7 separate regions of the Homo sapiens genome follow, and regions 2, 3, 4, 5, 6 and 7 are each linked to region 1. Evidence: promoter capture Hi-C in 16 types of primary human blood cells and fetal thymus (Javierre and others, 2016). All regions are on one chromosome and are shown on one strand. The core of a region is centred on a gene start or on the middle of the fragment in contact, and the rest is flanking DNA. Distances in the headings are between cores, read along the strand shown. Region 1 holds the start of LINC02551 (long intergenic non-protein coding RNA 2551). Region 2 overlaps ZBTB44 (zinc finger and BTB domain containing 44). Region 3 overlaps ZBTB44 (zinc finger and BTB domain containing 44). Region 4 overlaps ZBTB44 (zinc finger and BTB domain containing 44). Region 5 overlaps ZBTB44-DT (ZBTB44 divergent transcript). Region 6 overlaps ZBTB44 (zinc finger and BTB domain containing 44). Region 7 has its middle 58 kb from the start of ST14.

What was found. Contacts are between HindIII fragments. The CHiCAGO score rates a contact against its expected background, and 5 or more counts as called.
Region 2: a contact is called between a fragment that was not itself captured here and the fragment with the promoter of LINC02551 in region 1, in 1 of 17 cell types (total CD8 T cells). The highest score is 5.6, in total CD8 T cells.
Region 3: a contact is called between a fragment that was not itself captured here and the fragment with the promoter of LINC02551 in region 1, in 3 of 17 cell types (naive B cells, total CD8 T cells and erythroblasts). The highest score is 7.0, in naive B cells.
Region 4: a fragment that was not itself captured here is called in contact with the fragment with the promoter of LINC02551 in region 1 in 1 of 17 cell types (total CD8 T cells); the score reaches 6.8 in total CD8 T cells.
Region 5: a fragment that was not itself captured here is called in contact with the fragment with the promoter of LINC02551 in region 1 in 2 of 17 cell types (M1 macrophages and non-activated CD4 T cells); the score reaches 5.4 in M1 macrophages.
Region 6: a fragment that was not itself captured here is called in contact with the fragment with the promoter of LINC02551 in region 1 in 3 of 17 cell types (total CD4 T cells, naive CD8 T cells and naive CD4 T cells); the score reaches 5.9 in total CD4 T cells.
Region 7: a fragment that was not itself captured here is called in contact with the fragment with the promoter of LINC02551 in region 1 in 17 of 17 cell types (total CD8 T cells, naive CD4 T cells, naive B cells and 14 more); the score reaches 35.1 in total CD8 T cells.

What each region holds. Positions count from the first base shown.
Region 1 is chr11:130,859,856-130,863,576 of GRCh38, forward strand. LINC02551 (long intergenic non-protein coding RNA 2551) reads right to left here and starts at 2,255. Exons shown (of 6, transcript NR_125383.1): 1 at 2,111-2,255; 2 at 1,921-1,973. RefSeq lists enhancers at 1,616-2,116, 2,117-2,617. The HindIII fragment of the contact is 6,813 bases long and covers 1,914-3,721 here.
Region 2 is chr11:130,284,442-130,288,247 of GRCh38, forward strand. The region is part of intron 1 of ZBTB44 (zinc finger and BTB domain containing 44); the gene reads right to left. It also overlaps the pseudogene NDUFAF2P2. Among named protein-coding and RNA genes, the nearest start is that of ZBTB44, 29 kb to the right of the region's middle. The HindIII fragment of the contact is 1,960 bases long and covers 1,173-3,132 here.
Region 3 is chr11:130,260,116-130,263,736 of GRCh38, forward strand. It overlaps ZBTB44 (zinc finger and BTB domain containing 44), which reads right to left. Exons shown (of 8, transcript NM_001301098.2): 2 at 741-1,814. The coding sequence starts at 1,758. Among named protein-coding and RNA genes, the nearest start is that of ZBTB44, 53 kb to the right of the region's middle. The HindIII fragment of the contact is 5,894 bases long and covers 1-3,621 here.
Region 4 is chr11:130,307,498-130,311,333 of GRCh38, forward strand. The region is part of intron 1 of ZBTB44 (zinc finger and BTB domain containing 44); the gene reads right to left. It also overlaps the pseudogene RN7SL778P. Among named protein-coding and RNA genes, the nearest start is that of ZBTB44, 5.5 kb to the right of the region's middle. The HindIII fragment of the contact is 2,125 bases long and covers 1,511-3,635 here.
Region 5 is chr11:130,337,509-130,340,961 of GRCh38, forward strand. All of the region lies in intron 1 of ZBTB44-DT (ZBTB44 divergent transcript), which reads left to right. Among named protein-coding and RNA genes, the nearest start is that of ZBTB44-DT, 24 kb to the left of the region's middle. The HindIII fragment of the contact is 813 bases long and covers 953-1,765 here.
Region 6 is chr11:130,236,916-130,240,833 of GRCh38, forward strand. It overlaps ZBTB44 (zinc finger and BTB domain containing 44), which reads right to left. Exons shown (of 8, transcript NM_001301098.2): 3 at 2,897-2,981; 4 at 1,529-1,692; 5 at 1-178. Among named protein-coding and RNA genes, the nearest start is that of ZBTB44, 76 kb to the right of the region's middle. The HindIII fragment of the contact is 4,573 bases long and covers 1-3,790 here.
Region 7 is chr11:130,215,856-130,219,708 of GRCh38, forward strand. No RefSeq gene overlaps it. Among named protein-coding and RNA genes, the nearest start is that of ST14, 58 kb to the left of the region's middle. The HindIII fragment of the contact is 1,227 bases long and covers 759-1,985 here.

The sequences.
Region 1 (3,721 bases), core at 1,005-3,504:
GCATGGGATCTTTCATTTGTCTTTGCTAGACTTCCATTTCTCTCTGCCTCACTGGTGGGCTTTATTCCTTCCTGGAACTTTGCACACTACTTCAGTACATTTTGTTGATTAAAAACATTCTCTCTACAAACTTCAATACACTGGCAAAGGATCTCTGTAGCAGAAACTTTAAAACATGAAACTGCAGGCTGCTTTCTGTTTGGAGACCAAGCATCTGGGAAAGATGCCATTTGAACTAAGGGTGCACCAAGTCATAGACGCTCTTGGATGGCCCTTCCTGCAACATAGTCACAAATGCCAACAAGCATCTTACTGCTGTAGCCATGTGCTCTGGTTGCTAATCATATAAAGTAGTGCATTTGAGAACCCATCCTATCCTTGGTCTGAACATTTGTCTCCATCCAAAATTGACAGATTAAAATCCTCAACACCAAGGTGATGATACCAGGAGGCGGAGCCTTCGGAAGGTGACTTGGTCTTGAGGGTAGAGGCCACACGCATGGGATGAGTGCCCTCATAAGAGGGGCCTAAGGGAGCTTGTTTGTCCCTTCTGACATGTGAAGTTACAGTGAGAAGATAGGGTCTATGAGGAAACAGGCCATCATTTGACACTGAACCTTGCTCTCTGGACTGTGAGAAATGTGTTTTGTTTTGTTTTTTTTTGTCAGCTACCTGATATGGTATTCTGTTATGGCAGCTCAGACACAGTCCTGCGTCTTTAGAACTCAGGGTACACTGTGTGCTCCGTCAATGCTCATGACCATTTGGTACTCACGCTGGAGTGTGGGGGTTCGGAATGAACACTGAGACCAGCCATGCAGCATCTGTCCTCTCTTTCTGTGAAAAGTGCCATTCTGTATGTGACATGGACCCCTAGCTTTAGACCCTACAGATCACAGTGCAGTGTCTTTCACAGAGTGAGTGTGCTGGGTACTAGTGATACTAAGCTGGGTGATAAACCCTGCTAGAGAGGTGCGGCCTGCATGGAGTGGAGAGTGTGTGACAAGGTGAAGCAGCCCAGACAGAAGTGCCAGCACCACCATCCACTAATTGGGTGACCTCAGCCATGCACCCGAGCTCTGGGCCTCATCTTTCCCATCTATAACATGTGGGCATGTACCTTTGTTTTGGCAAATAAATGACAATATATGCTTTTAGAAACTGGTGGCTACTAATCTTATGTAAAGAATGTGTGTATTTATCTTGCCAAATAAATATATGGTTGCTCTTCAATTTCGGATCATGACAAGTCGATATCATAACGAATTTGTTGTATTTCTTGGTCAGGGAAGAAGGAGAGAGAAAAAAACCAGTGCCTAGTGATGACGCCAAGTCAAGGTAAAACCTGGCCAAGGGTGGACCTGGCTCCAGTGTCTCTTCCAGTTCTCCTTCACCCTGGGGATTACTCATTTATCTCTATGAATGCAGATTTATGGACCTATAAATGAATATATGTGTTAGGGCCACCATTGCTTGTTGTAACTCCACAAAGCATGTTGACCACAAAACCTATTGAGGGCCATAGGGGCCCAGCCTGCAACGCAGCCCATCTGCTCCCTGCATCCTCATCCACCGCCTTCCTTACCACCGCCCACCCACATGCCAGCACTGCCGCGCGGCCTCTGCTCCGGCCGTCCCTTGGCCTACACTGCCTTTTCCTAATCTTTCCCAAGTTGACTCCTAACACCTTTTAAGACTGCCTAGAATCACCGGGAAGGCTTCGCTGGCCCACCCCTGCCCGCCCAGCTTCCCCAGGCTGGGGGAAGTCCTTCTTCTGGGGGCTTCCGTGTGCACCTCTGTGCCTCCACGTCCCTCCTCACACGGTGACTTTCCGATGATGCGCCTGCCTCCCCTGTCCATGGATAATGAATTCACCCAGGACAGGGCTTTGTCTTTTTCATTCCTGAATCCGAAGCTTACCTGCTACTAGAGAATTTGTGAATTTCCGTTGAACACGTGGAAGACCTAGGAAGCTGTGGGGGAGAAAGAATGAATGACTTTCTTCAAGGCCTCCTGGCAAAGCAGCAGTGCAGCGGGAACCGGAGCCGGAGGACGCTGGCTCCTCACCTAGAGCCCTCCCTTGGGTCAGGGTGGCTCTTCTCTCCCATACCTAGCGTCCGGCGCTTGGCTTTGTTTCCCGGAGTGGGTGGCACTGTTTGGCCGCCACAGGCACAGCATCGCCCCTAGGCATCGCCCTCCGCACCCGGGGATGCGGCGTCCCCAGCCTTGCCTTTCTTGATGGCTAAAGCAACAGCGCCACCTTCCGGCCTCAAGGCCACCGGGCGTGGCCGGACTTGGGAGACCTTGGGCGCCCTCTTGTGGAATTTCAGAAGTTGGGCTGCGAAAATGACTCCGTTATCCCCAGCTGACCATGAGGCCCGCTGGGCACTTCCACCTCTGAGGTTTGAGTGGTTCAGTGGGCCTGTGCAGGGAAACCCAGCCTAGAAAGCAAGCCTTTATAGCTACCTTGGTGTAGAAGATCAGAGGCATATGAGGTGAGAAACAGGTGACATGTCACGCTCCCTGGAGACAAAATGTCCAGAAAGCTCCTCTAGGCAGCAAATAAAGAAGTTATGAAAAGGAACCGTGGAGAAAAAAGAGGTGAAGGGAAAAGAAAGGGAATGTTATTCTGACCCACATGCCTCACCGCCAGGGCTGAAGTCACTACTAACAAGGCCATTTAGGAAGAGCAGGCTGGAGTTGACAGCCTTTCCCCAGGAGTCCTCTGGTTTCCAGGTCCCCCGGTTTGAAGCACTCAGGAACACACTCAGCCCCTGAATCTTCACTCAGTTCCGTGGTGTTACTGGCAATCGTTGGATATCCCTGGCTGGGGCTCAGCCTCAGCTCCGGTGTCAGCTACATAAGAATCTCAGCATCTTGGGAACGTGAGCTCAACTTGAAATACACTTCCCTGAAAGGATTACTTTGTTTTGGGACAAGGCTCATATCAATCTGTCCTGCCAAGAGATTACTGCTGTTAAACTGTTGGTTTTCACTGCTGTCAAACATAATCTTACAAGGAGAGAGAGGGGCAATCACCCTCAACACCCAGCTGCAAGAGAAGACTTTTGACTGGGCAGGACTTTTCCTGGCACTCTCTGGAGAATAAAAAAGGAATATGTAGAATGGCTGTTGTGTGATTAATGCTTACACCCACAGTGCGGCTGAGCCATTCCCAGGGGTGCACTGAGTGGGATCCCTCTACATGCAACGACCCTGCTGGCATTTCACAGGTGCCTGTGGAGAAGGCCCATTGAAGACCTGGGGCTGAAAGTGCAGCTCAACTTTGCACATATGCTTGGATTTCCTCTCTATTCCAAGGCAGACAGTCCTCAGGGTTTGGCCTAACACACAAAGGATGGGAAGAATAAAGAAACGATGTTCCAACAGTATTTCTGCAGATCTAAGCTACTGAAGGGATGCTGGACCAACCACGATAGATGCTTCCTTTTCCGCAGTGCCTCGAAAAACACTTAGGAGTGTGAAGGAGTGAAATTTTATGCTATTGGCCTTGTTCTCATTTACTTTTGATTATTATAAAATTATTCTAACGCAAAACCCATAAAAAATTGGTAACTCAGAATCTCGCCAGATGAACTGTTACATCGGACTACGCTCTAGGAAGAAGTATTAAAAATCAAAGATATTAACTTTCCAAGTGTTCATTTCCATCTGTTTTCCCTCTCTGGGACTCAGTTTCCTACTCTGTACAATTGGGACG
Region 2 (3,806 bases), core at 903-3,402, 580 kb before region 1:
CCCAGAAAAGTAAACCAAGTCAGTTACTTAATGTCAGTTATTAACGTCAGAGCTAGGGATGTCAGTTACTTAATGTCAGGGCTAGGGATGGAGCACAGATGACTTGGTTCTTAAGAGTCCACTACTTTGTACAAAAAGCACTGTTGGCCAAGCGTGGTAGCTCACCCCTGTAATTCCAGCACTTTGGGAGGCTGAGGCGGGTGGATCACGAGGTCAGGAGTTCGAGACCAGCCTGACCAACATGGAGAAACACCGTCTCTACTAAAAATACAAAATTTAGCCGACGTGGTGGCACGTGCCTGTAATCCCAGCTACTCTGGAGACTGAGGCAGAAGAATCGCTTGAACCCAGGAGGTAGAGGTTGCAGTGAGCTGAGATCATGCCACTACACTCCACAGCCTGGGAAACAGAGCGAGACTACGTCTCCAAAAAAAAAAAAGTCCACTGCTTTGTACAAAAATCACTGTTAAAAACAGGACCTGGGGGCCAATCTCTCTAAATTTTAAGTATATTTTGACTTCTTTTCTTTGTGAAAATCATCACATCCATATACACAAAACGATCTGACCATAATGCAGTCACTGACTGTGGCTCCTTCTATCTTGCGGCATCTGGGATTCTGGCTGAAAGGTTTTACCAGTGCTGGTGGGAACCAGTGAGTTCTTCCTTTCCGAAGTATGGAGCAAAGCCATGTCCTTTGAGTTTGAACTGGTGGAGCCAAGAGTTCCTCACTAGTCTCTTTACTAAGGAGTTTTTGGTTTTCATAAAAATCTTTGCTTTTTAATTTCTTCTCTGTATTTTTCATTCTTTAGTATTTCCTCCATCGTAGGTGGAGTTATTCTTGTTTTCTTTTTTTTTTTTTTTTTTGAGATAGAGTTTCGCTCTCGTTGGCCAGGCTGGAATGCCGTGGCACAATCTCGGCTCACTGCAACCTCCGCTTCCCGGGTTCAAGTGATTCTCCTGCCTCAGCCTCCTGAGTAGCTGGGATTACAGGCGTGCACCACCATGACTGGCTAATTTTTGTATTTTTAGTAGAGATGAGGTTTCACCATGTTGGCCAGGCTGGTCTCGAACTCCTGACCTCAGGTGATCTGCCTGCCTTGGCCTCTCAAAGTGCTGGGATTACAGGCGTGAGCCACCACACCCAGCCTCTTTTTTGTTCTTCTGATCTAAGCTTCCCATTCTGTTGGAATATCCCCTACTTCACAGTCTAATTTTTTATTTGCTGCTTCTACAATTCTTTTCTCTTGAATAGTTTGTCCTCACCTCTCCAGTTCTTGTACTCTGGAATAGAGTAGTATTTGTTCCCAAACCAGTTCATGCCCACATGCTCCTATACTTCTTTTGACAGTGATATCCACAAGGCACACAACAAATCCTGAGACCAACCCGTGCTGTCCACTCTGCTCTCAGAACTGCTAGCAGCCAGTATGCAGCAGGGGTAATGCTCCAGCCACTGATCCAGCCCACCTACAAGTATTCTTTCTAGTGATTTGATAATAGTGTAAGAAAACTTGTTTCTATAAAGGAACTGTTCTTGTTGGAATAAAAATCTTACTACTTCTAAAACTCATATTCGATCTGTTCAAAGCAGTAAATCAACTATCCGAAAAGTGACAAACTACACAACTAAAAAGATTGATGTGGAAAAATGTTAGGACTCATTACAGTCAATTCCTTTCTAAATTATCAGACTGAGACGAAATCAGGCAAATTCTGTAACAAAGTGATCTTTAAAAAAATGAAAAAATCACCAATGGGCCAGAATATTAAAAGCTGAGTCCTTAGCTGTAGTTATTTGCTGCCTAACAACCTAAAGAGAAAAAAGTGACTGTGAAAATGACAGATATTAGCCTATTCTGATTATCTGAATATCCCAGAAAAATACATACTTTTTGACCTGTAAATGTATTTTTAAAATTACAATAAACTTAAAAAAAATCTATTAATTTGAATAGTCTCTGAAACTTACTACCTGAAATTTTCCCCATAAATTATATCTCACACTATAACTACTCAATTCCTATTAAGGTTTCTAATTCTAGATCTGCCATAGACACTCGTGGTATCCCTGTCCCTTTGAACTACAGAAGATTGCTCCAAGGATAAATACATTTGAATCTTCTGACACATTACTAAGCATTAATTAAAAGAATTATAGTCTTTTCATATTACCCAAAACTCAGTGACAGATTTCTTCACCTCATGCATAATTAGGCTTTGAGTATTTCACATTCAATTCAATTATCAATGAATATATTAACGTTGCCTGGAGACAGCATGTCCACTAGGTAGAACAACAGCTTTTTAGTTCAGACAGACCTGCATGTTAATCATGGTTATATGACTGTAGTGGCTGGATGACCTTAAACAAGTGAGCTTTCTGAGGACTGTCATACAGATTCAATGAGATGAGTCTATGTAAAGAGCCCAGTGCCCAGCACAGACTGTTTATATAAGAATATGGTGCAGCAGTGATTAACAGATAAGCTATCATTATTGACAGATCTCTGACTCTACCACCTTTGACTAAAATCTCAGCAATATCCCTCTGAATGTCAATTCTGGGCTTCTACTGACCAGCTAGAGTGCTAGACAATTCCATCTGAATGTGTTCGCCATCTTGCAAATTCAATGTCTGAAAACAAACTCAAATTATTACCCAACTAACATACCACTACAGAATTTCTTAATCTGTTAATCATGGACACCTTCAATTGCTCAGTCACCCATAGCTTAAAATCTAGTACTCATTTTTGATTCTCCATGCCCCATCCCTCACCTCCCATCAAAACTGGGTATCATCCATCAGGCACTCTCCCTTCACAGCCAAGTTTATAAAAATTACAGATACTCCCCACTTATAAATGTTTATCATAAATCAAAGTCATTTCTCAGAGCAAGAGTGTTAACTATGCCTATTACCAAGAGATGATAATAATGGACTTGTGTGGTCATGTAAGTCTTAGCTCTCTAGTCTTCATTAGTTTTTTCTCTGTGCTTAGTTTTGAGGTATATTACTAAATCCAGCATGTTCGATAAGCACAAAAACAGTAAGAATGGTGAAAGTACTAACAAACAGAGGTAAGTGTTGGAAATAAAATGCAGAGACATATTAATAAAGAATAAGAAAGCTTCTGCTCCCATAAATGGGATCAATATTAAATAGAATGAATGACTCTAAAGTACTTGCAACAAATCCTGCAACATATGAAGATGATATACCTACATGATAACTGATAATAGTAAGAGAAGGAAATAATGATTGGAGAAATGGAAAAACTTTGGAGTATGTGGTTAGAGTGGGATTAACACTAGACAGCGGATTTTAAACTCGAATCTCAGGCCTCTTTACACTCTTAAAATTTATTGAGAACCCAAAAGAGCTTTTATTTACATGAACTATATCTAAAAATATTTACCGTATTATAAATTAAAACTTAGAAATTTAAAAAATTATTCACCTAAAAATAACAGTACATTTTAAGACAACATAGTTTTCAAGAAACTAAATTTTCTCAGACAAAAAAAAAAAAAAAGAAAGAAAAAGGCAAGAGTAGCACTGATTTTTGAAAATCTCTTTAAGTCTGGCTTATTGGAAATCAGCTGAATTCTCACATGTGTTAAGTCTGTTACAGTATCACACTTCAGCTGAGCACAGTGGCTCACACCTGTAATCTCAGCACTATGGGAGGCTGAGGCAGGCAGATCACCTGAGGTCAGGAGTTCAAGACCAGCCTGGCCAACATGGTGAAACCCCCGTCTCTACCAAAAATATAAAAATTAGCCGGGTGTGGTGGCGCACA
Region 3 (3,621 bases), core at 120-2,619, 600 kb before region 1:
ACTAGGATTCGAGGCTCTTTACAGCCTGCGCTCAACCACTCCTTTTGTCTGATCTCCCACTATTCCCTACAGTTTCAGGCATCTGTACTTACTTACATCATTTTGCACTGAATTCACTGTTTACCAAACACACAATGCTCTTCCATACCTCTGTGTTTGCATATATGTTCTGTGTTTTTATGTTTTCACAGAAATGACATTCCCACACTTGGGTAAACTCTTACTTATTGCATAAGACCCACTCAAACATATAGTGTAACTTGCTCTTTCCTTTGTTGCAACCATACTACTTTGTTCACACCTCCAGATGAGCACTTTTGATAGTTCACTGTAATCATTTACTTTCATATCTGCTTCCCCAATTAGATGATTAACCTAATTGTCATTGCAGGGACTATGTGTTTTTCTTTATGTATCATAAATGTTTGCTTGGCACATGGTAAGTTTTCAATACATATTTTAATGAAGAATAAAACACAAACTGGATTTAACTGCTTTTTTGTGTATGTGTATCTGCCTTTGTCCCAGCAGATACCATTCAATTATTTTTATCTTCCCCAATGTGCAACTTGTAAAAAATAAACGATAGTGCTAATAGCATCTCAAGCAAATCCAGTTACCATGTTTTACTCTTCTTTATATTTCCTATATGACCGAGCACAAAACTTTTTATCTAACAGGAACTTAAAAATGTTTGAATTGACTTTATAGCACCAAGAAAAACACAGAAGGCATTATACCTATAGAGGAAGACTGTGGACTAATCAGAAGGTCCTCTTGGACTTGTTCACTTCCTGGAACTGTCTGCTGATCACTCAGCGAACTCTGAGATGCACTGACAGGCTGGGACACTTCCTCATGGACCTCCTCATCACTTAATCTTTCTACTTTGACCCGGACATCTTCTTCGGTACCTAAAGGCAAGGTAGTTTTTGTGCTCTCACAAGTCACATAATCAGCCATTCTTCTACCGGTCTCAGATGGGCCAGGTAATTCTAAAGTCCGGGTATTTTCTGCTTGCTTAACTTTCTCAGGCTGAATCCTTCGATCAATTCCAAAAGGAAAAGTCCAAGGAAAAGCTAAGGAAGAGTCAACTGGTTGGTTTCTATTTTCTGAGTAGGAAGCTGAAGAATTCAATACCTGGGGTGAGCTTGTTTGTGTGCCACACTTTACAGGACTTTCAGGAGACATAACAATGTAGCTTTTGCGCTTTCTCCGGGATTCTCGGCAGACAGGAATGGTTCTTTCTACCACACTGCACTCTGAGGACACGGGAGAAATGCTCCCATCTCGAGAAGTAAAATTGCAGTTAGAATTATTTTCTTGTCCAGCATCTAGACCCTTTTCAGGTTGGCTGTTGGGTGTATTCCATAAAATGCTTGATTTCATGAACTCTGAGCAGGTGCTGGCAACACTGAACATTTGCATATAGCTGGCTGCTGCTAGAACATCAATAATATTTTCTGTGTTAATTGATAGAGTGGCTGTGTAAGCATATTCTAAAAGAGGTATAAAGCCAGTCACTGTAACATGATGCAGATCCAACACATTCTTGTTCTCATCCTCGGCTTGGCCTACAAGTTTGGTGCGAAAGAAATCACTGCAAGCTGCTAGTACCACCTTATGTGCCCGGAAGATTTTGTCCTGGACACGAATAGTGATATCACAAAAATGTCCATCATTTCGCAGCATATTTAGCTTTCCAAGCATTTCCTGGCTGTGGGAAGAGGAGCTATGAGTAAATGTTTTCACACCCATCTTTTACTTCCTCTTCTACAGATGCTCTTCAAGGATGCAAATAAATCAGAAATGTCCTAAAAAATACATAAAATAAAGCATTAATTGATATTTTAGTGGTTTAAAATGTGATTTAGATCATTTTCATGTGGCCACTGTACTAAATTAAAAAGCTGAAAGATGGTAGTGACAGAGAAACTTCAAGGTAGGGACTGTATAGAAATATATTCTCCTTATCTGCCTTCCAAACTGTCCAATCAGTGAAGTCTGTGAACCAATGTTTTTTTTTGTTTTGTTTTGTTTTTGAGACAGAGTCTTGCTCTGTTGCCCAGGCTGGAGTGCAGCGGGGTGGTCTTGGCTCACTGCAACCTCTGCCTCCCGGGTTCAAGCAATTCTCCTGCCTCAGCCTCCCGAGTAGCTGGGATTACAGGCACCCGCCCTCATGCCTGGCTAAGTTTTGTATTTTTGTAGAGATGGGGTTTCACCATGTTGGCCAGGCTGGTCTTGAACTCCTGACCTCAGGTGATAGGCCTGCCTAGGCCTCCCAAAGTGCTGGGATTACAGGTGTGAGCCACCATGCCCGGCCTGTGAACCAGCGTTTTAATGAGCTGCAGGGCTGCAACAGTTTGTAAATAATGACAATTATAGAGTGTCTTCTATGTGCCAGACAGTATTTGAAATGCTTCACATTTAATAGTTAGTTGATTGTCATCATATCTCTATCAGTAGGCGTATTATCATTCCTGTTTCTAAATGTGAGCATGCAGCAGGCAATGCCAGTGTAAACACTGAACAATCCATTACATAATCATCCCTGTTAATGTTTTATGCAGGTAAATGTATAGAGGAAAAGAAAGATGGGAAAAAGAAAAAAAGGAAGTGGAAAGAAAAAAAAAAAGATTTCAAGATGAATTTAAAAAGGTTGCCAGGTGTGGTGGCTCACGTCTGTAATCCCAGCACTTTGGGAGGCCAAGGCAGGCGGATTGCTTGAGCTCAGGAGTCCAAGACCAGCCTGGCCAACATGGCAAAACCCTGTCTCTACAAAAAAACACATAAAAATTAGGCGGGTGTGGTGGCATGGGCCTGTAGTCCCAGCTATTCGGGACGCTGATGTGGAAGGATCACTTGAGCCTGGGAGGTGGAGGTTGCAGTGAGCCGAGACTGCACCACTGCACTCCACCCTTGGTGACAGAGTAAGACCCCGTCTAAAAAAATATAAGTCACAGACTATTCTAACTTGAGAAGACAAAATGATCAATTTGAGACTGTTCCATGTCAGACTTCACAAAAGGATAAGGCATAAATCTCTGTTCCAAAGCAGCCAGGTAAAGCTACTGAAATAATTATCTTGACCATAATTAGTAACAGAAGTTCGAATGTAAACTGAGTGCTCCACATACCCTTCCTGAAGTCAACTGACCACAATGAGACACTAGACAGCCAGGGACTGGTCTACGCAAACCATCATGTAACATATTTGCTGATTTAGGTCTCACAAAAATGAGATGAAAGAAAGAAAATGGGAGGGCTATATATAAAGCGTTTTGTTCATTTATTGCATCCCAGGAGACTAGCTTCTGCTTTTAAAGCATGGCCTTCGAGAGTGCTTACTTTGGGATCATGTGGCTGAGGGAAGAAACATGCTTTCAGAGCAAGTGAATTAGTTATAATCCAGGGACCATCTGCATGAACAAAGGTGTGAAGGCAAGAAATTAAACAGCATATTTGGAAGACATGTGCATCGGAGTATTAAAATGAAACCATTTCCATCTTGAATAGGCCCCAAACAACAGATAATGTACTACGTTCTCAAGTGAGGCACAAGGGCACCTTATACAAGGGGTAGTGGAAAACTATTTTCAACCTTGAGTTACATCCACCTTC
Region 4 (3,836 bases), core at 1,323-3,822, 550 kb before region 1:
ACTCTACTTTTAAAATGCCTTTTAAAGTAGTATCTAAATGCAGTTTCTGAAGCAAGGGGTCAGAAACTCCCGCACCTATGAGAAAGGAAAATGATATACAATCATGCGTGGCATGTGTCCCTCAATGATAGACCACAAATACCACAACCGTCCCATATTATAATACCATATTATTTTTGAGACAAGAGTCTCATTCTGTCGCTCAGGCTGGAGGGCAGTGGTGCAATCTGGGCTCACTGCTGGAGGAATCACATTACCTGACTTCAAACTATACTACAAGGCTATAGTTACCAAAACAGCATGGTACTGGTGTAACCTTCCAGGTTCAAGCAATTCTCCTGTCTCAGCCTCCCAAGTAGCTGTGACTACAGGTGCATGCCACCACACTTGGCTAATTTTTGTATTTTTAGTAGAGACAGGGTTTCACTATATTGGTCAGGCTGGTCTCGAGCTCCTGACCTTAGGTGAGCCACCCGCCTCCGCCTCCCAAAGTACTGGGATTACAGGCATGAGCCACCGTGCGCAACCCTGTAATACCATATTTTTACTGCACCTTTTCTAGGTTTAGATATGCTTAGATATACATATACTTTCCACTGCATTACAAAAGCCTACAGCATTCAGTACAGTAACATGCTGTACAGATACGTGGCCTAGGAGCAACAGGCTATACCATATAACCTAGATGTAGAGTAGGCCATACCATCAAGTTTTGTCTAAGTACACTTTATGATGTTCATACAATGACACAATCGCCTAACGACGCATTTCTCAGAACATATCCCCGTTGCAATCTCTGAGGTTGTTACAGCATCAGTCATGTAGTTCCGTATTCATGGTGACTGAAAATTTATTCAATTTTTATGACTTGTTACATTTAGTTGTGAGGTGGAGCAAAGCAGCTAAGTGCTAACTCTAAACAGCCTTGAATTTGAAACCTGGGTCGGCCACTTATTGTGATACTCTAGGCAAGTCATTTAATGCTTTTAGATACCAGTTTCCTTACTGCAAAATAAGATACTAGTAGCAATGTCAAAGTGTTAATGTGAGATTTAAATAAGATAATGTATAAAATGTTTAGCACAGCTGGCATACAGAAAGGGCATAACAAATGTTAGCATTATTATCAACACTGTATTAGTTCATTCAGCCTACACAACAGGTTCTAGCTGCTACATGGCTACACATACCCATGCAACTGTTTATAGTATTCTTCTTCATCACCTTATATGTTCTAAGAACCTTGGGTAGTGTATGTATTTTACTGAGATTAAAGACAGAATGAGGGTGAATGGGTCCAAGTGCAAGCATTCTCCATCTTCCCACTCCACTCCCTAATGGAACTAGATGTTCACTCTGTTATTGAAAGCAGTGATTGTGGAGTCCTAGTAAGGGAAAAGGAGTCAGGCGGGTGGGAAAAGGGTACAGCAAAAAGAAAAAGCAGATAAGGTATAAGTCTGCCTTTCTTCATGGTCCAAGACACACAGCCCTCTTGCACAAATAACTCACAAGCTTTCTGCACTCAACTTATCACCAGACTCTCAGCTGACAGAAAAATGCAAGTTAGCTCACTGCAACCTTGGCCTTATCAGTACTGCACATAGCCCTCTCTGCAGCACACAGCAGAAGCATCATCCTGTAACATGCCCAGCAAGCCATTGTCTCCTGGCAGTCAGCTTCTCTCTTGCTGATCTGCCCGTTGCACCCTTGCAACCAACCTACTTTCATACTTTCTCTAATAAATCTGCCCTTCTTTACCTACAATTGCCTTGGTAATTCCTTTACCACCTGCAACGCCAGCCTCAGCTAGTGTGACCTATGACAGTGAGGATGAACACAGGAAAACACACTACAGGCACAGTTTTGCTTTTCAGCACTTGGTTGACAGGAGGCTGATAAACTGCCTAATTGTGCTCTGCTTACTTTAGATGAACACTGCTCCCTCTTAAAACTTCATTTGAGATCACATAATTATGAATTTATATCAAATTTGGTCCAACCCAAACAAAATGTGTTATCTCCACTGATCACATATCCAAATGCCTTTTTATCTGTACATAGCATATTTATGCCAGTTTTGTTGTAGATGGAGTCACCTGGGCGCAGTGGCTCACGTCTGTAATTCCAGCACTTTAGGAGGCCAGGATTACACTTCAGGAGGCCGAGGCAGGTGAATCACTTGAGGTCAGGAGCTCGAGACCAGCCTGGACAACATGGTGAAACCCCATCTCTACTAATACAAAAATTAGCTGGGCGTGGTGGTACATGCCTGTAATCCCAGCTACTAGGGAGGCTGAGGCAGGAGAATCGCTTGAACCCAGGGGGCAGAGGTGGATTGCAGTGAGCTGAGATCGAGCCACTGCATTCCAGCCTGGGCAACAGAGGGCGACTGCATCTCAAAAAAAAAAAAAAAAAGTTAAAAAAGTAGATGGAGTCATAAAACCTCTACCAACTACCTGCCTCTTTAAAGACATGATTTAAGTAAAAGCTACAGTTCTATTTTTATGGAATTTTTATTTAAAAATATGGTATCTAGGCCTACGGCTACAGGCTTACATGTGTAATCTTAGCACTTTGGGAGGCCAAGGCAGCAGGATCACTTGAGCTCAGGAGTTTGAGAGATCAGCCTGGACAACATAATGAGAATCTATCACTATTTTAAATCACTATTTAAGAAAAAGAGCTGGGCGCAGTGGTGTGTGCCTGTAGTCCCAGCTACTCAAGAGGCTGAGGCAGGAAGATCCCTTGAGCCCAGAAGTTCTGGACTGTAGTATCCTATGCCGATTGGGTGTCTGCACTAAATTAGGCATCAACATGGTGACCTCCAGGGAGTGAGGGACCACCAGGTTGCCTAATGAGAGAAGTGGCCCAGGTCAGAAACAGAGCAGGTCAAAACTCCCGTGCTTATCAGTAGTAGGATCACATCTGTGAATAGCCACTGCACTCCAGCCTGAGCAACACAGTAAATCCCCCGTCTTTAAAAAAAAAAAAAAGTAAGCATGGAATCCACTTCTCTGCTAACTTCTAAAAACTAGTCTTAGTTCTCTTTGCCAGAGGAAGCAGAATCTAATTTTAAAATTTAAAAGTACTTCTATGTGGCTTCACATAACATAATTTGTCTATTGCTAATTCTTCTGAGCTTGATGTGAGAATGTAGTAGATACTAAAAGGAGTATGGTAAAGGTAAACAATACTTCATCTTTAAAAACTAATTTTAATGAGGTTTATCCAAATATAGTTTTTTTTTGTTTTGTTTTGCTTTTGAGATGGAGTCCCGCTTTGTCACCCAGGCTGCAGTGCAATGGCGCAATCTTGGCTCACTGCAACCTCCCCGGTTCAAGCAATTCTCCTGCCTCAGCTTCCCAAGTAGCTGAGACTACAGGCATGTGCCACCATGCCCGGCTAATCCAAGTATAGTTTTAAAACATTATTTTGACTTCTACACTATGTACATACTTTACATATTCAAAAATAAAATCCTAAGTAAAAACTGAAACCTATGAACCATATCAAATTGGTAGCATAACCAGAGAAAAGTATTTCAAGTGACTTTTGAACACAGTACTCATTATACATTCTTCATGCAATATAGTCTAAATACGAAAATAAATGCAAAGAAATCTTAAACTACATGAAGCTTATTGGTATTAGCAATACCAGCACTATAATTTTAAAATGATTTTATGTATACAGTGGGAGAAAGCAAATAAGTTTATTATTTTTTTTGGAGACAGGGTCTCACTCTGTCATCCAGGCTGAAGTGCAGTGGGGTATGAACATGGCTCACTGCAGCCTCAACCTCCTGGGCTCAAGTGATCCACCTGCTTCAGCCTCCT
Region 5 (3,453 bases), core at 109-2,608, 520 kb before region 1:
TGTTCAGGCATGGCAGGCTGCAGGTCCCGAGCCCTGCCCTGTGGGGAGGCAGCTACGGCCTGGTGAGAAATCAGGCACAGCAGCTGCTGGCCCAGGTGCTAAGCCCCTCACTGCCCGGGGCGGCAGGGCCTGCAGGCCGCTCCGAGTGCAGGGCCCGCCGAGCCCACGCCTACCCGGAACTCACGCTGGCCCGCAAGTGCCGCGCACAGCCCCAGTTCCTGTCCCTGCCTCTCCCTCCACACCTCCCCGCAAGCTGAGGAGGCTGGCTCTGGCCTCGGCCAGCCCAGGAAGGGGCTCCCACAGTGCAGCGGCGGGCTGCAGGGCTCCTCAAGGGCCGCCAAAGTGGGCGCCCAGGCAGAGGAGGCATGGAGAGTGAGCGAGGGCTGTGAGGGCTGCCAGCACGCTGTCACTTCTCACTGGAATTACAGGCAGGAGCCACTGCTCCTGGCCCAGGAGTCTTATCCTTTCGTGGCAGGTGTTCCCATAGCCTCCAAGTATTCAAACTTCACTTTTCTTATCTAAACTTGCAATGAAATGAGTATCCCCCTGCAGTATTAACTATTCACCGCAAACAACCACTGTCAGCCACCTCCAAAACTGCAGCCCTTGCTAGTGATGACTGGCCGTTGCACAAAGATCAGTCTTTCTTTCACAGTGCAAAGGAATCCCTGGTACCCTCAAAAGCCAGAGGAATTAGAGAGGTCAATGTAAAAGAGAGCAGAGCTTTAGCCCCGAGAGGATCTCGCCACAACTCTGGGGCTCCGTAAGGAAAACTGAGAATCCCAAAAAGGAGGCGTGGTGTCTTTTTCTGTGTGGCTCAAGGGGTTTCAGGGCCACTAGAAGTTCCTCCTAGATCTCTTCATGTGGAATCAAAAATAGCAAAAAAGAAGGAGCAGTAGAAGTGGAAGGAAATGGAAGAACAAATCTTAAAGGAGCCAATTTGGAGATTTAAAGCTTTCCAGAAAGGCCAGTGAAATTTTACTTTTTTTTTTTTTTTAAGCAAAATCATGCCAACAAGAAAGGAAGCCGACAGAGGAACCGAACACAATTAAAAAGGGATTTCAGTTGACTGAAAAAAAATTCCCAGAAACAGAATCCAAAAGAGAAAAACAGAAAGACCTCGAAAAAAAACCCCACAAAAACAGCCTGAATATCAGCTTTTAATTTGGTTGATTTCTGACTGTAGAGTTCTTTAAAAAAAAATCTTATCATATCTCTTATTTTCAGATTTCAGCAGGGATAAGTAGCCAATATTTCTGGCTTTTGACCTGTTTTTTCTTTTTTCTTTTTTTTTTTTTTGAGACAGGGTCTAACTCTGTTTGCCCAGGCTGGAGTGCAGTGGCACAAACATAGCTCACCGCAGCCTTGACCTTTTGGGCTCAAGCAATCCCCCGCCTCAGCCTCCTGAGTAGCTGGGACATAGGTGTGCACCGCTATGCCTGGCTAATTTTTTTTTTAATCTTTTTAATTTATAGAGACAAGGTTTGCCATGTTGCCCAGGCTGGTCTCAAACTCCTGGGCTTAAGCAGTCCTCCTGCCTTGACCTCCCAAAGTGCTGAAATTACAGGAATGAGCCACTGTATGCAGCCAGTTGTTTTTTGCTATTGTTTTTAACAAAGGTACCTCCCAAGTGACTTACCAAAAGCAAAAACCTTAGCCAAGGTTATAACTTAAAGAAGGATGCATGAGGTATTGCCAAAGAAGTACAAAGCAGTCCTTACAAGACCCAGAACTACCCCCCCAAAAGACAGCTTAAAAAAAGGAAAGCTTCTCTATGGGCATCTCAGATGAAAGATTAAAACAGTCAGTAAGACAGGAAATCAAAAGCTGTATGGAAGGGAAAAGCGTCAATAACAAATGAGTATCCCAAAAAGTCACGAGTCACATAAATATTAAACCATAACTGGGCCATGGCAGTGAAAGCACCAAATCCTAACCATAGACCACAGAGTGAGTGGGTGCCTTTTTTTTTTTTTTTTGTAAATAAATCCTGCAGGAAATCCAAAGCAGGCAGTGTTTTTTGTTTGTTTGTTTTTGTTTTTAAACTTTAGAGACAGGATCTCACACCCTGGCCGGAGTGCAGTGGTGTGATCTCAGCTCACTGCAGCCTCACCCTCCTGGGTTCAGTTGATCCTCCCACCTCAGCCTCCCGAGTAGCTGGGACTACAAGCATGTGTCACCACACCTGGCTAACAAAGCAGGCAGTTTGAGCATACAAGGATTTTTTTCTTCAGATAACCCTGTTCTGAAAGCATACAAGGATTTTAACTTAGTTTTAGGTCAGAATTTTTGCTCTTTAATTTTGTCAAGATGATTTCTAAGGCTAGCCATAACACGATCATGTGTCTTTTTTTTCCAATTTGATCCTCCCGTAAATACAAATAATGCATTGTTTAGAAAGAGAGACCTCTAAAAACCTTTCAAGTATAGAGTCTTTCTAATTTAAAGGATGTATCTGTTGGTCACTGAAGGTGAGAAATTCTAGAAACTTGAAACTTGAGTTTTTTTTTTTTAATTTTAGAGATTTTTAAAAGTTATTTTGGCATGGTTATCTCTTAGGGACACTAGTTTAGATCTCTGGAGTCTTTTAGATACCTTGAGAAACCCAATTAAAGTAGGCTTCCCACTCAGGCTGTTTATTCTTTCATTTTAGCCCTGTAATTGAGAAGGAAAACAAGTTTTGGAGATTAAAAAAGCTTCAGGTTGGCAATTGTAATTCCAAATCACTTTCAGTGATATTGGTCCACTGAGAATGAAATTTACAAGGTGAATGACCATAATGTTTGTCTAAAAAACAAACAGGTGTTTAAGAAGGGGGGTAACTTAGCACCTATGCCATTAGAAGCAAAAGAGCTCCTGAATACCCACCAAAAAGGGAAGATTTTCTTTGTTGACAGCTGGCAACAAAGGCTACCCAATAAAGGCTTCAACCTCAACCAAGGTGGGAGGTTCAGGAAAATGAGAGGACTCCCCAATAGGGTTTGAGGCTGTCAGGAAGGCAATGGAACGCAAGGAGTTCCTGCAAATACCATGCTTGAAACCACAGCAGCACTGGGACACAGAGGAAGAGAGTCACTTGCATCCCACTTATGACACCATTTAATGTCAACCAAGAAGAGGTGAAAGACCTTACTGCAGAGCAAGGAATCAAGGCATTTATTGGGGTTGTAGGAATTGCAATTCATGAGACATAGATTCAGCTAAAGGCCAAATCATATTCTGAAGAGAGGAAGGAGAGTAAGGATTTTTAAAAGGATGCTGAGAGTGGTTACACTAGTTGTTTTTGAAAGAATTATCGTGGGTGGAGGTGGCTGGCTTAGTACATGAGTCTACAGTCATTGGTTGTGGTTGTTTAGGAGTCATAGTGCTAGAAAACTTCAGCTGCTTTCCAGGATGTTGTGGTCATGGAGGTTTGGCCTAGTTGAAAGTTTCAAGGCAAGGTCCTGTTTTTTG
Region 6 (3,918 bases), core at 254-2,753, 620 kb before region 1:
CGGATAATGTGCCGGGAAACCCTCATGTGGTGTTTATATTCCCCGAAGGAAGTGAAAGTGGCACTACATATCTGGCACCGGAAACAGCGTTTACCTTCATGCTTTAGGCGATGCATCTTTAGCGAGTAAGCCCTGGTGAACTTTTTCCCACAGCGGTCACACTGAAATGGTTTAATTCCTGTAAATAAAGCAAAACAAAATATCTAAAAACAAAAATAAACTGAAAAGTCATAAACCCTACAAATTTCTGAACTATATTTCTGTAGCAACAGATCATCTGAAAAGGCAAGAATTACCAGCAAAAACATATTCTAATTGAGTATCTCAGAAAATGTGCAGAATATGTGAAAAGTCACAAGTGCTTAAAAAGGAAAAGAAAAAAAGGCAGTAGGGGAGGCAAACTAGGTAACGTCTACTGAAGCTGATTTTTGAATGCTTTTCTAGATCATCTATTTTACTAACTTCAAAACACAATTTAACTACAGTATGTAGACAGAACCCAAATCCCCACTAACAGCACATATTATTTCATTTCATTAGAGGTTTACATTGAACGGATATGAAAATCATCAGTACCTACTCTCTGTTCCCTATCTCACAGAGAAACGAGAAGAAAGAACAATTTTAACATCTCTGAATGTAATGAGCATGACAGAACCATCATTTGATATAATGGGTTTTTTTGGGTAATATGATGTAATATTGATAGAAATAAATGAGTTATAAAGTGTATTAATAGTCTCCTCAAATTCATTATCACAGTGTTTTGGGGAAAAAATTTTAAAACCTTTCAAAACACAGTCTACGGATTGAACAAAGTCACAGAGAATTGGTGCTAGGACAGGGACTGTAAGACCTATCTACAGAAGGGGAAAGTGAGATAGTAACTCACGCAGCTGAAAACAGCAGCAAAGATCTCTTACTCGTCAGAGGTCAGTGTTTTACCCACAAGAATCCTGTTGCCTTCATGTGATTACTGAACTAAAATTTCAAATCCCCTCTATACATTTATCCAAAATCTCTGTTATGTTTAAAAAAATACAAACTACAAAGCTGACTCATCAGGGCACACAGAGATTTAGGACTGTAGAATTGAAAGTAAATTAGCAAGAAAATATTACATTTTTAAACACACTTTTATTTGGGAAAAATTTCAAACTTAAAGAGACATTATAAGAAGAACAGCACAAAGAACACCCATACAGACCCTTTTAACCCTATTTGCTTTACCATCTGTGTTTGTGATTCTCTATCTCACCTCTATGTGCACACCTAATATGTCTTTTTATTTACAAAGTACTCACTCCATATCACCTTATGTTCTTTTAATCAGAATACTCAACACCCGTGGCAAGCAGCTTTCTGACACTGCATCATTTCAGCAATAAACCTTAGCTAATCTGTTTTCATTTGACTTCCCAGAGTTTTTTTTAAAACTCAGAAGCCCCTGTTTTCTATTTTAACTGGGACTGCAAAATAAAATGTTTTAGAGCGTTCACTTACGCACCAACAGGGAAGGTGACATTACCTGAGTGGATGAGCATGTGCTGCTTTAGGTTCTGAATACGGGTGAATCGCACCCCGCAGGTTGGACACTGAAAAGGTCTGTCGGGACCATTTGGACTTGGTCGCTCTGTACTGCTGGTGGAAGGAGCAATGTAGAGTTGGTAGGGATACTGAACATTTTCCAATCTAAAAAAAACAGACCAAAGAAGGCAACCAGGCTCTGATTTTTAAACTGAATAAACACTGCTATAGGTCAATTTTAAATGAAAAAAGATAAAACACTTAAAGACTTTTTGAAACAGTTTAACTGTTAGACTTCAAGTTTTACTTTAACAATATGAAAAACAATGTTAATGTCCAGAATGCCTTTTGTTTTTTTTTTTTATTTTTTGAGACGGAGTTAGGCAGAAGTCATATCGTGTAGGGCTTTAGAAGGCATAGCAAGGCCTATAGATTTTAGGTATGAATAAAGAATGTTAAGAATCTATAGCTTAAAACAGTGACATAATCTGACTTAATTAAAAAAGAAAAGATGATTTTGGCTGCTACATGGAAAATGGATTAGGGGAAGAATGCAATCAGAGGCTACTTTGAAGGTTATTGCAGTAGTCAAGGCAAAAGATGGTGGTGACTTAGAGTAGGGTGGCTACAGTACAGATTAGAAAAGTAGACAGGGATATATTTTATAGGCAGAGTTGACAGGACTTAAGGATTAACTACGAGGGAGATGAAGAGTGGTAAGGAAAAAAGATTAAGAACAATCCTCAGAGATTTTGCTTGAGAAATTAGGGGATAATGATGATGCTTACTGAAATGGGAGAAAGGCTGGAGAAGCAGGATTCAGACAAGGAGTTAGAAATCAAGAGTTCTGTCTTGGCCTTGTTAAATGTGAAATGCCCTTTATACATTTATGTGGAAATATCAAGCAGGGAGGGAGTTATGGGTATACAGATCAGACTTTGGCAGATGTTTTTCACAGCAGTCCGTACAGCACACATTCTGACTTTGCACACCATACAGTCTGTTTCAACCACTCAACTCTGCCATCCACAAACAATATGTCAGCAAATGAGCCTGGTTGTGTTCCAGTAATACTTGATTTACAAATAAAGGTGGTAGGCTGGAATTGGCCTGTGGTTCATAGTTTGCCAACACTTGGTACAGATACGATTTAAAGCAATGGGACTAGGTAGTTTTGGAAATGCTGGGGAAAAAAAAAAGCCTTGTATAGGTACTCTAATTTATAATGTGATGATGCTACTTCATTACTTTGAAAAGTATACTGAAGTGAGGTTGTAATAAACTTCTACAACTCTTGAGATGAAATGCTTGAATTTGGAGTTGTAAACACAACCCTTAAGAGGTAACGAAATGCTATGTTAGTACTGACCGATCATCATCATCCGGAGGAGCATTAGTGCTAGACGTGCTTTGAAGTGTAGGCAAGCCCTCAGAAACGCCTTCATCTACTGAGCCTGTGAATAAGAGAAAGAGGACCACTGTAATCCTTTGGTGTGAATAAGCCAAGATTGTAACTGAAAGCTATATTATATCTAAGCCTCTGACATATATTATCTAGTGTTCATATCCTGAATTATTAATCCAAAGTAGTGTTCTACATTTTTTTTTTTTTTTTTTGAGACTGAGTCTCGCTCTGTCGCCCAGGCTGGAGTGCGGTGGCGCGATCTCGGCTCACTGCAAGCTCTGCCTCCTGGGTTTACGCCATTCTCCTGCCTCAGCCTCCCGAGTAGCTGGGACTACGGGCGCCCGACACCACGCCCGGCTCATTTTTTGTATTTTAGTAGAGACAGGGTTTCACTGTGTTAGCCAGGATGGTCTCGATATCCTGACCTTGTGATCCACCTGCCTCGGCCTCCCAAAGTGCTGGGATTACAGGCGTGAGCCACCGCACCCAGCCGTGTTCTATATTTTTAAATGTTTGTGATTTTAAAGAAAAACCACATGTAAGATAATAGTCTTATATTACTATTTAAGTTCTTTTAGAAATATTTCTTTGACACATTTCAGAAAGCAAGCAGGGCAATTCAAAAGCGAACAAAAATCCACATAAAACTGAGTAATTAACCATTTAAGGAAACACTGAAATTCTTATTTTTTAAAACTTATTGAAGACATACAACTTGTTGCACAACTTTTATACAGAATTTAACAGATAAAGTGAACACCCAGGCAACCTCCACACACAAGCCACACGAAAGCACGGCCAGCATCCTGGAAGTCCCCATTCATCCTTCCCTGATCATAAACCCCTCCCTTCTCCAAAAGCTTCTTATGGTTATCATTTTCCTCCTCCCATTCTCTCACTTTTAAAAGTAATTTTATCTTGAATACAAGTATCCATAAGGTAGGTATTCGTTCTTGCTGGAACACAACTTTGGCTGGACTAGGGCT
Region 7 (3,853 bases), core at 122-2,621, 640 kb before region 1:
AGGATTTCAGCGGGCTTGACTATCCTTTTCCTATTTCTCTCCTTTTCTCCTCCAGAGGAATGTCTCCTCCCAAGTTCCACTGTCCTGTGCCTGCAACTCGGAGACCATGTGTTCATTCTACCCTTTCCACTCACTCCCATCGTTTCCTAAAAAGCCACTGTCCAGAGCTGCTTGCGGGTATGGGTGGGACTCAGCTCCATTGTCTGTTTATTCCATAGTCTCAGCACCTTCCAGCGGGAGGGATGTGTGTGTTTTCCTAGGATGGAAACTTAGCTCTCCCTTGCCCTTGGCTTGGCTGCAGGCTCCCTCCCCGACGCGCTGCTTTCACCTTGGAGGTTATCACTGTTCCCCTGCCCACACCCCTGGATCAAGAATAACCCAGCCTCTGCGCCAGACCCTCTGGAACTTCATATGGTCTCGTTTAACTCAATAGGGAAAGAGCTCAACAGGGAAATTCTACCACCCTCAGCCTGTGTGCTTTTTCCACAGAGCTCTGAGGTTGCAGTGTGAGGGAGGGGGTCGAGGGACCAGGCCCACCCAGGAAGGGTGGAGAAGATCTCAGTCTTCATGCAGAAGGACATTCGGAGGACAGCTCCCAGAATACACTGGGTATCTGACACCTCTTTGCAGCTCATAATCCAATTCCCATCCAAATCCCAATGAAGACAAATAGGACAGAAGAAATGTATAGGCATAAACTAGGAAAAAAATGAAATCTGTTTGACACATGTGACTCTGTTGCAAAAGAATGGGTAACAAGCTTACTTGAATGAGCCAAGGGAAAGGATGAGAGAAGCAGCCGCTCATTAATTCAACAAATCAGGCATCTGTGACTGCGGAAAGGGCACCCGGTGTAGGCTGGGGGCATCGGGCCCCCAGATGAGGCAGACACTTGGGAAACAAGGTCCTGGGCACGTCTGGGCGGGCAGACAGGTCACATTCCTGGCAGGGTCAGGTCACGGGGTCTGGCCGACCAGCCTGAGCCGAGCACAGGAAAGGTGCCTCTCTGGGGCCTTCTGGGGTGTGTGCGGGGACCTTTATGACCCTCCAAGGCTCAGTGGAGTTGCTGTTTCCCAGGAAAGCAGCTGCCTGAGGGACATCCTTTCAGAACTGGAACCTCACGGTTGGAAAGAACCTGAAATTCAAGGTGACCTACGCCAGATGCCCACGAGGCATTTTAATCCGTCCTAATGTGGGAGCACGGACAGGCCCGTCCAGCCTGGGACCCCACTGTGCTTCCACCCCGTCTTTGTGCCCCTGACCTTGCCAAGTGGGATGCCAAGCGGCCTCTTCCTGTCCCCTGCGCTGGATGTGAGAGCTGGAGAGGCCCTGGAAGAGTGACTGCTCCAATCTGTATGTCAAAGAAGTGTCAGGGACTCTGGCGGCGTGGATGCATCCTCTCACTTCACCTCTCACTTCAGCGTCATCACAGTCCTCGGGAGTGGGTTCTGTCATTCCCAGTTATAGGAGAGGACGCTGTGGCCGTGCAGATAGAGAGCCTGCTGCTCACGGTTCCTCAGTAGGGGAAGAGAAGGGTGCACCTGGGCCACTGGGTCCACCCGCACAGCCTCCTGCAGCCAATGCATGCTCCACCTGGGGCTTTAGGTGCTGGAGCCAGGACCTCTCTCGCCAGGTCATAAACTCACTGGCTTAGGCACACGTGGAAAAGGCCAAAACAGACTTTCGCTGGCAGGACTCCAACCCGGCTCCATTAGCATTTCAAAATCTTCCCCATGTCCTTTCTTTCCTTGGCCACCCCCAGCAGCCCCTGGGCATTTCCCTCTCTAAGGGGCCAAACCATCTGCTTCGTCTTACTCCTCTGCCTGGGGCAGTGTGGACTGGAGGGAGAATATGTTTCCTTGAGGTCTTGGCCGTGGGCACTAGAACAACATGTTCTGTCCTCTGATTCAGGAGGATCAGCCTGTGACCCTCGTCTTCCTCCCTGAGCAGTTCAGTTCTGCTGAAGGCTGCTTGGCCTTGCGGGAAGCTTAAGCAAAGGGAACAGAGGCCAGGGGTGATGGGGCGGGCCTCGGACTGGAGCCTAGAGGGGAAGGGCTGGAGAGAGATTCTGCAGGGCCGGCCCCTGTGCCCAGATTTTCCAGTCCCAAAGAAGACCCACAAACTGGACCTGTGTGGGGGGCACAGAAATATTCCTGCATCATCAGTAACAAGGATTTTCACTGGGACCTGGGGACATGTAGCAAGACCCAAGCTGAAAATATAATTCCATTTTGTTCTAATTCAAAGGCTTCTGAAAAACGAATGAGTGGTTCACAGCTTGAACTATTTTGTTGGGTATTTATTTTAAACAAAAGACATTTAATTTTTTTTTTTTCTTTTCTGAGATGGAGTCTTGCTCTGTTGCCCAGGCTGGAGTGCAATGGCGTGATCTTGACTCAATGCAACCTCTGCCTCCCCAGTTCAAGTGATTCTCTCACCTCAGCCTCTCGAGTAGCTGGGATCACAGGTGCCTGCTACCATGCCTGGCTAATTTTTGTATTTTTATGAGAGATAGGGTTTCGCCATGTTGGCCAGGCTGGTCTCAAACTCCTGACCTCAGGTGATCCACCCGCCTTGGCCTCCCAAAGTGCTGAGATTACAGGCGTGAGCCACCACGCCCAGCCTGGTTTAGTTTTTAAAATAATGTTTTGTAAGTTTGGGTTCAGTAAAGATGATTTGGGCCTGGTTCAGTGTCCGCCCTGGGACTCACTGCAGTGAGGGCAGCAGGGAACGCACAGTGTGTTTCAGCGGGGCCAGCTGGGCAGCAGGGCAGGATGGATGTGTGGTTCAGAAGGCAGCTTTGGGCAGCCCACCTCTCTCCACAAGCCCCTGCCCACACGGTTTATGGTGCGTCTTGGTGAAGCATAGACGTCGAACACCTGTGTTTCCATGAGTAGAAACATCAGGCCTGGAGGCCTCAGATTTGGACACCGCTGTGAAGGTGGCGTTCCAGGGGCTGGCCGGGCTACCTTCCTGTGCCCTGACCCTCACCCCGGGTGTTTTGGGCATACAGTGGGGAACTCACTGTGTCTTGGAGAGGCTGGCAGACACCTAAAGTCCCACAAGCGTTTCCTGAACACTTGACCAAAACGGTCCATCTCTGCACACATGGAGCAGGCCTCACTTCTGTGACCTTGGAGAGTGGTAAGGGCTGGAGCCACACAGGAGTCCCTGGCACATTCCCGGGTTGGAGCAGGTTTATGGGAGGCCAAGGGAATTTGGGAACATGGTCACTACTATGGGGAACCAAGTCCTCTCTTTGCTGTCTTCTCAGGGGTATAGAGATGCTCCTCAGATCACCTCTGCCAGAGCTTGGATTTCTTATTTAATGTACCTGGAAGCCTTCACATCTATAAAGCTTTTCTTCTCCAAGGTTAAATAATGCTGCTAACCTGCTATGTTCATATTAAGGCCTAGGGAAGTGGATGAAGACTTGGGGTGGGGCTTGCTAAGGTCCTGCAGAGCTGGCACGCACCACTTTCGGTACGGGGGCACCAAGGAGCACCCCGAGCCGTGAAGGGCTGGACTTCTCTGTGAACAGTTCATAATTGGCGTTCCTTCATTTCCGAAAATGCCCAAGGGAGGGAGGAAGTATATTGAGGCTCATATCGTACTTGGGGTGTTTAACTGTAACCTGATTACCAGACTTGCATTCCTGTGGACCCATTTCCAGTAGCTTCACTTTTTTTTTTTTTTTTTTTTTTTTTTTGAGACAGAGTCTCTCTCTGTCACCCAGGCTGGAGTGCAGTGGCGCGATCTTGGCTCACTACAAGCTCCGCCTCCCGGGTTCACGCCATTCTCCTGCCTCAGCCTCCCGAGTAGCTGGGACTACAGGCGCCCGCCACCACGCCCG